Regions from separate parts of the Homo sapiens genome. Here region 2 is linked to region 1. Evidence: promoter capture Hi-C in human tissues and cell types (Jung and others, 2019). All regions are on one chromosome and are shown on one strand. Each heading gives the region's core, a stretch centred on a gene start or on the middle of the fragment in contact. The rest is flanking DNA. Distances are from core to core; before and after follow the strand shown.

Evidence for each region. Contacts are between HindIII fragments. The study calls those that stand out against the background at their distance.
Region 2: a contact is called between a fragment that was not itself captured here and the fragment with the promoter of CHRNA5 in region 1, in 4 of the 25 tissues and cell types used here (heart right ventricle, lymphoblastoid cells, mesenchymal stem cells and 1 more).

Annotation. Positions count from the first base shown.
Region 1 is chr15:78,562,308-78,568,944 of GRCh38, reverse strand. It overlaps CHRNA5 (cholinergic receptor nicotinic alpha 5 subunit), which reads right to left and starts at 3,425. Exons shown (of 6, transcript NM_000745.4): 1 at 3,120-3,425. The coding sequence starts at 3,225. RefSeq lists a silencer at 3,138-3,227 and an enhancer at 4,038-4,227. The HindIII fragment of the contact is 8,456 bases long and covers 1-6,560 here.
Region 2 is chr15:78,451,168-78,457,804 of GRCh38, reverse strand. The region is part of intron 2 of IREB2 (iron responsive element binding protein 2); the gene reads right to left. Among named protein-coding and RNA genes, the nearest start is that of IREB2, 16 kb to the right of the region's middle. The HindIII fragment of the contact is 7,438 bases long and covers 1-6,637 here.

The DNA of each region.
Region 1 (6,637 bases), core at 2,176-4,675:
AATCTTTCATAGCTCTCATTTTCTATGAATTATTTCATTTTCCTATTTCATTTTCAGCCACTACATATAGTAATTAAAATTAAGGTTCAGCCATTTAAAATGTCACATAGCGTGCAGCCATAAAAAAGAATGAGTTCATGTCCTTTGCAGGGACATGGATGAAGCTGGAAACCATCATGCTCAGCAAACTAACACAGGAACAGACACCAAACACCGCATGTTCTCTTTCATAAGTGGGAGTTGAACAATGAGAATCCATGGACACAGGGAGGGGAACATCACACATCAGGGTCTGTCGGGAGGTTGGGGGCAAGGGGAGGGAGAGCATTAGGACAAATACCTAATGCATGTGGGGCTTAAAACCTAGATGACAGGTTGATAGGTGTAGCAAACCACCATGGCACATGTATACCTATGTAACAAACCTGCAGGTTCTGCACATGTATCCCAGAACTTAAAGTAATATTTTAAAAAAAAAATTAAAAAAATAAAATGTCACACAGCTAAGAAATATAACCATTGGCTTTAAAATGTCACATAGCTAAGAAATAGTAAGAAATATAACTAGTTAGGTAGTTAATGACTATCTAACTTCCATAATCACTGTCCCAATCACAGGTCAGTTTAAAATGCTTGTATTATCTTGATGTACTAGTTCATTATACTTTAATATATTATACTTTAATTGTCTCCTGAGCCACTTTCCACAGCTCTGTGACCGTTCATCAGCCAAATAATAGCTGCGGGCTGACTAGATATTCTCTTTACCTGGGAACTGGCTCACAGAAAACCACAGGGAAAAGTTACTATTAAGAACCTAAGACGAATATGAAAACAATAAATTGTAAAAATAAAGGTAATTATATTTGAACTTAAAAAACTTAAAGTTGACTTAAAAACATCTACTACCGCCCTTTCATTTTAAAGAGAGAGAAACAAAGAATCAGCAAGGTCAAGTAATACGTCCAAGGAAACACAGACAGCGAGTGGCAGGTCTCCTATTTCCAGACAGTACTTTCAGCCACCCACATGGAACGACAGTTGTACACAAATGCATATTAACAGTTAAGAGCAAGTGTGCAATTACATCATCCATTCAGTATCACTTTGTTCTTCAAGATGATCACTTCTAAGAGCACACAGAATCTTATAATTTTCAAGGTGGAAGGGGGATCCTTTAATGGCCCCTCACCATCCAGATGGAGAAACTAATATCCAGAGAGGTAATACTGTTCCACTCCTTCCTTCCGCAAACCTTCACTGGGCTCCTACATTAAGGCAGGTGTTGGCGATACAAAGATAAACAAGAATCACAGTTCTTAAGGAGCTTACGTGGAAGCAGGAGGAAACAGAAGTGCAATAGAACCAGATGGTTATTATGAGAGAGATATTAACTAAGTGGGGCAGAAAGCAGGAACTAATCGATTTCACTTTGTTATAACACTGAACACCATGCATGAAGGGAGATAGCTATTTACACTATTTAATGCTTGGCTACAGTGTTCTATATTAAAAGACATGAAACAGATTTTTAAAGTTCAGTTTCATCAAAAGGGGTAGAGAACTACCATTTTCTCGAGTGTCAGGCACTGTGCCTGGCATTTTATATGCATTATTTAATCCTCAAAAGAACTCTGAGAGGTAAGCATGATTATTACCCCCATTTCTTTTCTTTTCTTTTTTTTTTTTTTTGAGACGGAGTCTCGCTGTGTTGCCCAGGCTGGAGTGCAGTGGCGCGATCTCGGCTCACTGTAACCTCCGCCTCTCGGGTTCACGTCATTCTCCTGCCTCAGCCTCCCGAGTAGCTGGGACTACAGGCGCGCACCACCACGCCCGGCTAATTTTTTTGTATTTTTAGTAGAGACGGGGTTTCACTGTGTTAGCCAGGATGGTCTCGATCTCCTGACCTCGTGATCTGCCCGCCTCGGCCTCCCAAAGTGCTGGGATTACAGGCGTGAGCCACCGCGCCCGGCCCGCCATTTCTTAAAGAAGGAAAACAGCTGAGAGAAGTTCGTCCAGTCAGGATGCACCAGAGCCATAATTTGAATACAGGTTTGCCTGGCTCCAAAATCACATTCCTTTCTTTCTGTTTAACTCTCTCTGCCCAGGATTTTCTTCATTTGTTTAAATCACCCTCCATCTTATTTCTCTTCGGTCTACACTAAGCAATACATCCTGCAATGAATTATTCTAGTCTTATTACTTCCTAAAATCAGGAGCCATAGATTAAAAACCTTAACAAAGGAAAGGCAAGAAAAGGTTCTTGCAATATTTCCACTATTTAAGAAACTCACTCATAAAACCTGAAATACAGACGTAGTGAACTTCTGTAATCATATCTTGCTTAACGGATGCTTAGCTTTTCTACGTTTAGATCACACCATAGCTGCTCCACAAACGTGTTTTTCTTCAAGGTATTGAGAGAACTGACTCTAAAACTTTCCCAAGCACTTGAAACATGTAGGACTACGCGATTTCTTTTGTTGTTTCCATTCCTGTCCAAAACCTCTTGAAAAACAGCAGGCTGAAAAAAGCTGTGCTCTAAGGAGCTAGTGAGGAACTCTGGATGCAAACGATTAGCCCCGAAGCCAGGGAAGTTGGCCGCCTAGCCTGCTACAACACACACCTTTCATCTCCGGCGAAAGGAAAGGTTTTCAAATGCTGCGGTGGGTAGGGGACAGGGATGGAGGAAGAGGCGGCGGGCAGGAGGTGGAAGATAAGTCCCAACCCCTAGAATGAACCCCAGAGTCTCTATATCCCGTAAATGGGCAACAAAATGGGAAGCTTGGCTGCCACCAGGACAGGAAAGCCCTGCTGGACAAGAGTGGCATCTTTTACTGAAAAAGTTGTGTGGAAGTATACGCTAAGCCAGCCTCGTAGTCTCCAGCGATGCAGGTCGTGGAACAACAAAGAAAACCCACCCAAGTAGCCCTTTCTCTGCATTTAAATGAGCAAATCTGGACATTTAAACTGAAACCTCACTCCAAGCCCCCAGGAGAAAAAAACCCACCTCCCCTCGCAACCAGGTTTTCCGGCGGCCGTCGCCTGGCGGCTTCCTGGGCACCGCGATGTGGAGTCCGGGCCAGCTCCCGCCCCGCCCCTCTGCAGCCCGGGCTTACCTCTCTGCGCGCCGCCCGCCGCGCCCGCTAGACCGCAGCGCCCCGCGACCAGCTGGACCAAGAGCAGCAGGCGGAGCGCGCGGGGCCCTGACCCCCGCGCCGCCATCGCCCCGCGCCCGCGCGGGACCGCGGGCAGCCGCCTCTCGACCGCCGCGCGGGGAACGCGAACTCTTGGGGAATGGAGCACTGAGTGTGAGTCGTGAGACAAAACGAGGGCAGACGCAGCAGAGGGGCCGCTCCGCGCCACAGCTCCCGCCGGGACAGCAGCCTCAGCCTAGCAGCTTCTGGCGGGCTCGGGACGCATGTGGAAGCTCCCGGCGCCTAGCCCCGCCCCTATTTCCCTCTGGCCCCGCCCAATCCTCGCCTTGTTCCTTTTGGCCCAGTCCGGTCTATTCATAGCCCCGCCTCCGATCCCCACCAACCCTTTCCCCACCCCGCCCCGCCTCTGGTCCAACCCTGTCTGCTCCTAGCTCCTCTTTTTCCACGCCTGGCCCAGCCCCATCGCCCTGGCCCCCGCCTCCAGGCCTTCCTTTGGGCAGGTGCGACCCTGGAGCAGAGTTCCAGGAAGGCAAAGACTTGAGGCTGGCATCGCAGGCGCGTCCTTCTCTAACCACCGGATGTCCTTGGCCTAGTCACTGCACACCTTAAGATAACAGCTATTCATTGATGTCTGCTCTGTGCTCAGCACCAAAAGGGGAAGCAGAGGGACAGATTGCTCCCAGCTGATAGAAAATGTAAATAAAGTAATTCCGAGTTGTGATCAGAAAGAAACAAGCTGGAGGCTGGGGCAGAATCACAGTGGTGGGGGACTTGCTCCAGGCTGCAGCGCTCTCCATGGGCCCCGCTGCCCACTCAAGTCTTTCTCACCAGGAAGTACCAGTCGCAGCTTGACTGCCTCCTGGGGCTGTCGTGTCAGCCAAGGGGTCCCCACCAGGAGACCTGTGTTGTGGACCAGCGAGACAACCCTGGGCAAGTCACTTTCCTCTCTGGGCCTGTTTCCTCGTCTGGAAGCGAGGAACCGAGGCAGATAAACTAGAGGACTCGGGAAGGTACAGCTCTGACACTCACTCAAGCCATCCCCGGAAATGATATGCAGTCGCCTCAAACGTGGGCATCGCCCTCCGTGTTGTCATCAATTAACATTTGTAAATATTAGTGACTATCTGCTACAGACACTTAGCACCTCTGGTGGAGATTGGTGCCGACTGCTGGAAACCCGTCTCAAATCCCTCCAGACCCTATATTTCATCCTCTCTGTCCATAATTAGAAAGCTTCATTTGGCTGAAGGGATTCAGGCGAATTATCTTTAAACTTCAGTGGCAGAGGGAGCCGCTGACTCTTCACAGAACGCTTTATGGAGGTGACACCTCTAAGACTCATTGTGAGCAAAAATTTCACTCCACCCTCCAGACTAGTAAATCTGTGAAAAACTAAACCTGGTTGCAAAGAATCTAAACAGCAAAATTCAGTGAAGATGCTCTTCTTAGGTCCAAATACAGCTGGAAAAATGTAAATTACATCCAATGGAGCCAATCTGTTTAAACAGGACTTAAACAAAGGGGCCACAGAAAAGGGATGCACAAGATGTTAACCAGATTAGTAATTAATTGCACTTCTGCACAGAAATGAAAGACAGTACCTATCATCCTTTCACTGCAAATTTACATTTTACTCTGAAGAATTTATGGGACTTACAGGCACTTATGCAATTCATCCTAACAGTGTTTGGATGACTTTAAAATGTTATTCTGCTTTTACAGCTAACTGATTTGAAACAGAGGAGTTGAATAACTGCTGAAGGTCACAGTACCTGTCAGTGGCAAAACTAGAATGAAATGGTTGTCAGTGCAGCCACTGCAAGTATAATTGGAACTCCTAGATGTTATATCAATAATCATGAGAATGATGGTTATTTACATAATCTATGAAAAACACTATTAATTGTTGCTATTAAGTGAAAGGCAAAGCGTGACATTTGTTGGGCATTTTAAAATCCAAACAAATAATCAGAATATAATGTCTACATCTTACATGGTTTTTCCAGGGGGATACGCCAATTACTCATGGTTGCTGGATATGGTGCTACACCTGACTCTGATAACAGGCATCTTCACACTGCTAGGAGACATTAGCTGACCAAATGACAATGAAAATTGCTGCTGTTGCTGCAGCCACCACCTACAAAGTTCCCCTAAAGTGGCATCTATCTACCAACTTTCTGAGACTTAGCCAAAGGGACTATTACACAGTTCTTGCATCCCAGACACCACCTTTTCCTCTGAAGATTGTGGAATTTTTATTACACTTTCCTGTCTTCATTTATCCTTCCTTCTCCCCTCTTCTGAATATCCAAACCCACGCTTTCTTCAAGGCTCATTTCAAATGCCACCTGCCTTCTCTTTATCTATTTCTCCATAATTATGTTCTCTACTAGATAGTGGATTTCTCAGCCTAGAGGCTATGTCTTTTTTTTTTTTTTTTTTTTTTTTTTTTCCTAGTAGAGACAGGGCTTTACTCTTGCCCAGGCTGGAGTGTGTAGCAGTGTGATGATAGCTCACTGTGGCCTCAACCTCCAGGGCTCAAACTCAAGCGATCCTCCCTCCCCTGCCTATCAAGTAGCTGGGATTACAGGGGTGCACCCCTACAACCAGCTAATTTTTTTAGTTTTGATTTTTTTGTTTGTTTCTTTCTTTTTTTTTTTTTTTTGGTAGAGACAAGGTCTAACTATGCTGTCTAGGCTTGTCTCAAACTCCTGGGCTCAAGAGATCCTCCCACCTCGGCCTCCCAGAATGCTGGGATTAGGAGTGTGAACCACCATACCCAGCGGGGCTATGTCTTGTTCACCTTTATAATACCTACTTGCCAGTCAGTACCTTGCCATAGAAAGTAGAATTTAACAATTATCTTAACACTGCTAAGTAATGGGGACTGTAAGAATTTAAACACGTTTTAATATGCTAGTTCATTTAGTATCAATATTACAGGAGTGGTACTTTTATTATCCTTGTTTTGGCCAACACCTTCTCAGTTCTCTTGGCAGGTTCCTCCTCTTCTACCCAGGCTTTGCATGTTGGAAATTCCAGAGGCTCAAATCTGGGACCTATTCTGTCTCTGTAAACTTCCCCCCTCAGTGATCTTATTCACTTCCCTGGCTGTAAATACCATCCATATATTGATGATGACCAGATTCATACTCAGATAGGTGCTGATCTCACCTCTGAGCTCCAGTGTATTTGACTATGTACTTTACATCATAATCACTTAGTTATGTCACTTAAGATGTTCCAAACCATGTTATCCTCTTAGCCTTCCCATCTCAATCAATGATACCACCATCTGACTAATTACTCAAGCTAGAAAACTGGAAGTCATCCTGAGTTCCTCCCTCTGCTTCACCCACCGAGTCTAATTCAACTCTAAGTGCTATTTACCTGGAATTTATTTATTTATTTATTTATTTTTATGTATTTATTTTTAAGAAGGAGTTTCACTCTTGTTGCCCAGGCTGGAGTGCAAT
Region 2 (6,637 bases), core at 2,204-4,703, 110 kb after region 1:
AACAATCTCAGGAATATTTTTTGTTTATAAAAGTTATAAACCCACTAGAAAAAAAGTGACAGGGTGAGGCAAAGCCAAAAAAATTTTGAAAAACAAAGTATTACTAGATGGATGACTGGTAATGGACTGAGCAGAACAGAGGAGAGACAGCTGAAACTTAAAATGTCTACATGGGGGAAAGGCAAGCAGAAACAAAGTTTAGGAAATCAGGATTGCCTGAGATTTCTTATGAGGAGTGTTAAAAGCTAGCAGACAATGGAAAAATGCCTTCAAAATTCCAAATGAAAATAATTTCCAACCAAGAAATTTACACACAGGAAAACTATCAATTAATCAAGCAAGGTCTCAAAAATGTATTTCTCAGGCATCCTTTCTTAGGAATCTAGTAGAGGACATGCTCTATAAAATCAGAGAGTAAACAAAAAACAGAAAACCACTAAATCTTGGAGAGTCTCCAAAACAAAGAGAGAGCAGACTCTTCTACAACAACGGCTGTGCAAGCTACAATGCAGTCAGTCCCAGATGGACCAGAAGATGAAGTCCAGATAGCATGTCATCAACAGAAGAAAAAAAAATAACCAATAGATTACATGATTATACCAGGAGGAGGAATTTAGTTCTTTTGGAGAGTTCAGAGATGATTTATTCATAAGGACATAGAGTACTAAGCAAACAAAAAAAGGCAATCCATTAATCCCAGGAAAAATACAAAGTTATATGAGAGATGAGATACAATCATCATTACTACAAGGATTGGCTAAGAACATTTATAGTCATAACATAAATGCTCAACATTGATTCCACCAAAAATTATGAGTTGCATAAATATACAGAAGAAGTGCCAAATTACCATTTTCACAGTATAAAACTACTAAAGTCTAAAATCGGAAAATCAAGAAAGAGTAGTATAAGAAGGGCAATTTAACAACATGGAGGAAATTACCTGAAGAAACAGTCAAGAGAATTGAAAATAGTATTCTCTGGGGAGTAGAAATTGGGGACAGGGCAAAAGGCTACTGTTTTAGTTATAATTTAACAAGTAGGGTATTAAAAAATTCTTATTTAAAAATTAAAAAGCAATTATCAAATAAGAGTGCTACGAGAAAACACTAATCACAAATGTATTTTTTTTTTTTTTTGAGATAAGGACTTGCTCTGTCACCCAAGCTAGAGTGCAGTGGCACGATCATGGCTCACTACACCCTTGACCTCCTGGGCTCGGGCAATCCTCCCACCTCAGCCTCCAGAGTAGCTGAGCTACAGGCGTATACCACTATGCCCAGCTGATTCTCGTAATTTTTTTTTGTAGCAATAGGGTTTCGCCATGTTGCCCAGGGAGTTCTCGAACTCCTGGGCTCAAGCAATCCTCCCACCTTGGCCTCCCAAAGTACTGGGATTACAGGCATAAGCCAGCCACCACACCTGGTCCCACAAATGTTAACTCAACATTTTGTCATGAAGAAGCACCAACTATCTCAAATTTGTCTAAATTTGTAAAAGTAATGACTAGAGACCTACTGCCAGGGAAGATGCAAATGAATAAAAATACCACTGTCTCTCAAAACAAAAACAAAATTTCTTATTTCTCCCTGTGGTAGCCAATCTCCAAGATGATACCAATAATACTTGCCTTCTGATAGTCATGCTCTCATATAATCTGTATTGAAATCAGTTCTGCTTGTCTGACTCTATTTAGAGTATGGCAGAGATGACAGTGTGAGCCTTCCAAAGCTAGGCTATAAAAGTCTTTTGGCTTCAACCTTCCTCTCTTAGATTACTCGGTGAAAAGCCAGCAGCCTATTATGAGACTATTGAGCAGCACTGAGGAGAGGCCCTTATGGAAAAGAACTGAAGCCTCTCCATCATCAGGGAGCGCCAGCCTGTCAGCCATGTGAGTGAGGCCTTGGGCCAGGACTATCGACTAAGCCACTGCAAATTCCTGACCTACAGAAACTGTGACTGTCATAAATCTTTACTGTTGCTTTTGGTTTGTTATGCAGTAATAGATAACAAATATCTTTTCTTCCTCAACTTTTCCAACAATATCATCTGCAGTTGTTTATTTAGGACTAAGGGGCAGATGCAGAGGTGCTTTATATAAATTATTCCATTTAACCCTTAAATTAAACCTACAGGTAGATATTCCAGTAGAAGAGTTACAACAATAGAGAGTAAATTAGCAGATGTGAAAAATGGACATATGCTCTGGTTTTTTTCTTTTTTTCTTTTTTTTTTCAATAGAGATGGGATTTTCCTATGTTGCCCAGGATGGTCTCCCAACTTCTGGCCTCGAGCAATCCTCCAGCCTTGGCCTTCCAAAGTGCTGGGATTAAAGGCAGGAGACACTATGTCCAGCCTTGGTTTGCTTTTTCAACAATATTAATTCTACGTCCCCACTTTCAAACAGGTATAAAGTTCAGGAAGGCCCATTTATTTCCTTTCTTCCTCCCTACTCTCCCCATCTCACCTCTACATACGCTCTTGTGCTCCAACTATACCATCTTGCAAGCTTCCTAAACTTCAGAACCTCTCTGATCCCCACTCTTACCACATCTGTTCTTCAATACTGTGGGGACTTTCTCCTTACTCGTTGGCACCAGCCTATCCACGCTTTCCTTACTTAGGCAGTTAGGGTCAATGTGGTTCAATCTCTCACTTCCCCAAACCCTACATTTATTTCCTCTTTGTTCTTTTACCCCATTTGCCCAAGAAAACACCAATCCTGTTCTTTTTTCACCCCGTCCCCGCAGCTGGTCCACTCCACATCACCTCCCTGCTTAAGAACTATTCTCTCTTTTTTAAAACTAACTTTACTGGCTGGGCACAGTGGCTCATGCCTGTAATCCCAGCACTTTGAGAGGCCAAGGTAAGAGGATCACTTGACCCTAGGAATTCGGACAACCTGGGCAACATAACAAGATCATCTCTACAAGAAAATAAAAAATTCATCAGGCACAGTGGTGTGCACCTGTGATCCTAACTACTAACGAGGCTGAAGCGGGAGGCTCCCTTGAGCCCAGGAGGTCAAGGCTGCAGTGAGCCGTGATCATGCCACTGCACTCCAGCCTGGGCGACAGAGTAAGACCCTGTCTCTAAATAAATAATAAAACAAGTCCTAAGTTTATTAAGGCATATTGTATATATCTTATAATTCATCCTTTCCAAGTGTATGATTTAGCGATTTTTGTAACGTAAGTTTACCAAGTTGTACAATCAACATCATAAATCAGTTTTAGAACATTTTCATCATCCCAACAGATCTCTCATGCCTATTTACTGTTAATCCCTCTCCCCCTCCTCTCTAACCCAAGAAACCACCAATCTACTCTATGCCTTTCCTGGGCATTTCATATGAATGAAATCATAAAATAAAGTTTCTTATGCCTGTATTTTTTTCACTAAGCCTGCTTTTTACAGTTCATCCACATTGTAGCAAGTATCTGTAGTCAATTTCTTTTTACTGCCAAATAGTATTCCATTGTATACCAAAGTTTTGCCTATTCATTCACCCACTGCAGGACATTTAAGTTGGTTTCAATTTTCGGCTATGAATAATGCTGCTAAGATCATTTGAAAATCTTTGTGTAATAAATGTTTTCATTTTTCTTGGATAGATACTTAGGAATGATATTGCTGGGCTACGTGGTAAATTTATGTTTAACTTTTTAACAAACTGCCAAATTGTTTCCCAAAGTGGCTGCACTATTTTACATTCCCACTAGCAGTGTATGAGGTTTCCCATTTCTCCATATCCTCCCCAACATTTGTCACTGTCTGTCTTTTATACAGTACCCATTCTAACAGGTATGAATGGTAATTTGTTGTGGTTTTAAGTTTTATGTTGAGGAGGAAGAATGAGGAAAAAATTCCTAAAACATCAACGCAGAGAAACTGGCACTAATGTAAACACATGATTATAACCTCAATCAGGTCCTCACTATTCGAAATCCTAATGTTTCTCTGATCTGCTTATTTTCCCACACTCCACATCAATTAATTCTTATCTTCATCCACTCTCCTTAAAATTTAATCTCTATTTATCTTCTAGAGGACCTAGCCCCGTTTCCTACCTCACTGATAAATAGAAACTAACAGTTCCTACCTCTCAACTTCCTCCTACTATACCCACAAGCCTTGCTGCCTCTGGATTCACCCTTTCACCAGTTAAGGGAGCTGCGGACTTCCTCCTACTAAATGATAACTTCTCTATAGGAGTTTTGCATCCTATTTCCATTAACCATTTTAGGACTCAAGAGTCATCAATCATTTCCTCTCTCCTTTTTTTGCAAACTGGTTTGCAATTCAACTGGTTTCTTCCCATCAACATTTAAACAGCTCCTAGCCCCAGTTGACAACAAAAGTACTGCTTCCTTCAAATTCTCTAAAAGTGCCCACTTTTCTACCTTCCACTCACCTTAGCCCTAATCAATATTATTTCTGTCCTTAAACACGAATGAAGCAGGTCTAGCTAGAATCCCAACAGCCTTGTAGCAATATTCAAAAGAGCTAATAATTACCTCCTTTTTGAAACACTCTTTCTACTGGATTCCACAGCACCATCCTCCAGTTTTCCTTCTAACATATTGTTGGAAGACAATTTTCCATGTCTCCCATCTCACATTTCTTCAAGACTTGTGAACAGAGGTAATGACTACCTTTGTTCCAGACTATTTTTTCAGATATGTCTATATAGTGAATAGTTTTCAAATACACGATAGCGTCTTGCTCTGGAGCAAAGAGCAGGCATGCTTACTACCCATTATAAAAGACTTGGGTTTCCTAAGCCACAGTTCCTTTTCTGTAAGTAACACAACACCTGTGTGTGCAGGTGTTACCTGGCCTTCTTCAACATTACCCTATAGAAACTAGAGCTTGGGAAACCAACATAAATACTGTTAATAAGGATAATGCTTTGCTGTGAGTAATAAACTGTCCATTGTCTCTGATCCAGGAGTTGGGTGCCTCCTGCCAACATACATGAAACTACGTCAGGCTAATTTGTTAACTTCCAAGGAAGGTAAAATTTTAGATCCTTTATAGTTCTTTTTCATTTTTTTAAAATTGAAATGGGGGTCTCACTATGTTGCCCAGGCTGGTCTCGAACTCCTGGGCTCAAGAGATCCTCCCGCCTCAGCCTCCCAAAGTGCTGAGATTACAGGTGTGGGTCACCATGCCAAGCCTCCTTTATAGTTCTTAACACTTCTAGGTAGGCCTATCTTCCTTGTTAACCTCTACTCCTTTATCTGATATCTAAATGTAGGAGTTCCTCAGAGTTCATATTGAGACTCACTTTTTTTCTTACTCTATACTGCTTCCTCCAGGGAGTACAACTGCTCCTATGGCTTCAATTATCACTACATCTACACTAATAATTCCAAAATATTTTCTGTAGTCCAAGTCTGTCTTCTAAGCTCCAAAACCACATGCCCGATTCAGGAGGTGAACATGTTTACTTTAATACTGGTATGTTCCCAACTTCACTAGTACCTAAACTTGAACTCAGTGATTTCCCCTCTGCCCCTTCCCCTTATCATCACCTCATCTTCCATTCCCTAGCACAGTAAATAGCACCACCATCCTTCCAGATGTTTATGCCAAAACATCGAGGCATTTTCCTCAATGCCTCTCTCCTACATCTTTTTGTCTTCTATCAATATCACCATTAAATCTAGTCCCAACCACCAGTACATCATCTCTCACTTAGGTTCCCTAGGTGGTCCCCCAACCCTATACTGTGATTTTCGAAATGTGGTCCTAAACTGCTGATGCCTTAGCAGGACTCAAAGCAGTGGCACCAAATTGTACTACAGGTTGAGTATCCCTAATCCAAAAATCCAAAATCCACCAGGTGTGGTGGCTCACTCCTGTAATCCTAGCACTTTGGGAGGTTGAGGCGAGTGGATCACCTAAGGTCAGGAGTTTGAGACCAGCCTGACCAACATGGTGAAACCCTGTTGGACGCAGTGGCTCACACCTGTAGTTCCAGCTACTAGGAAGGCTGAGGCAGGAGAATCGCTTGAACTAGAGGCAGAGGTTGCAGTGAGCCAAGATTGTGCCATTGCACTCCAGCCTGGGAGACTAGAGTGAAACTCCATCTTAAAAAAAGAAAAAAGAAAAAAATCCAGAGTGCTCCAATGAGCATTTCCTTTGAGCGTCAGTGCTCAAAAAGTTTCAGATTTCAGATTTTCAGATTAGGGATACTCAACCTGTAGTACTCGTATTGTTTACTGTCACACAAAATACCAGTTTCACTTAAAAATGTCCCTAAGAAGCAGAAAAACTGTTAATTTTATTAAATCTCAACTGCTGAGGTCAAGTCTTAATATTCTGTGTGACAAAAATGAAATATATTTATACAATATTTCTACTCGAAAACAAAGTACATCAGTTGCTTGCAGAAAAACTCTTGTATGATTGAGCTGCAAGCTAAAATTAAGCTTTTTTTTTTTTTAAAGAACAGTTTTTCACTTGAAGGAACTGACAAACTATGGTTATTCAAATGTGTACATTTGGCAAAAAGTTTCTCAAAAGTGAATGAAGGCTGAGCACGGTGGCTCACACCTGTAATCCCAGCACTTTGGGAGGCCGAGGTGGGTGGATCATCTGAGGTCAGGAGTTCGAGACCAGCCTGGCCAAC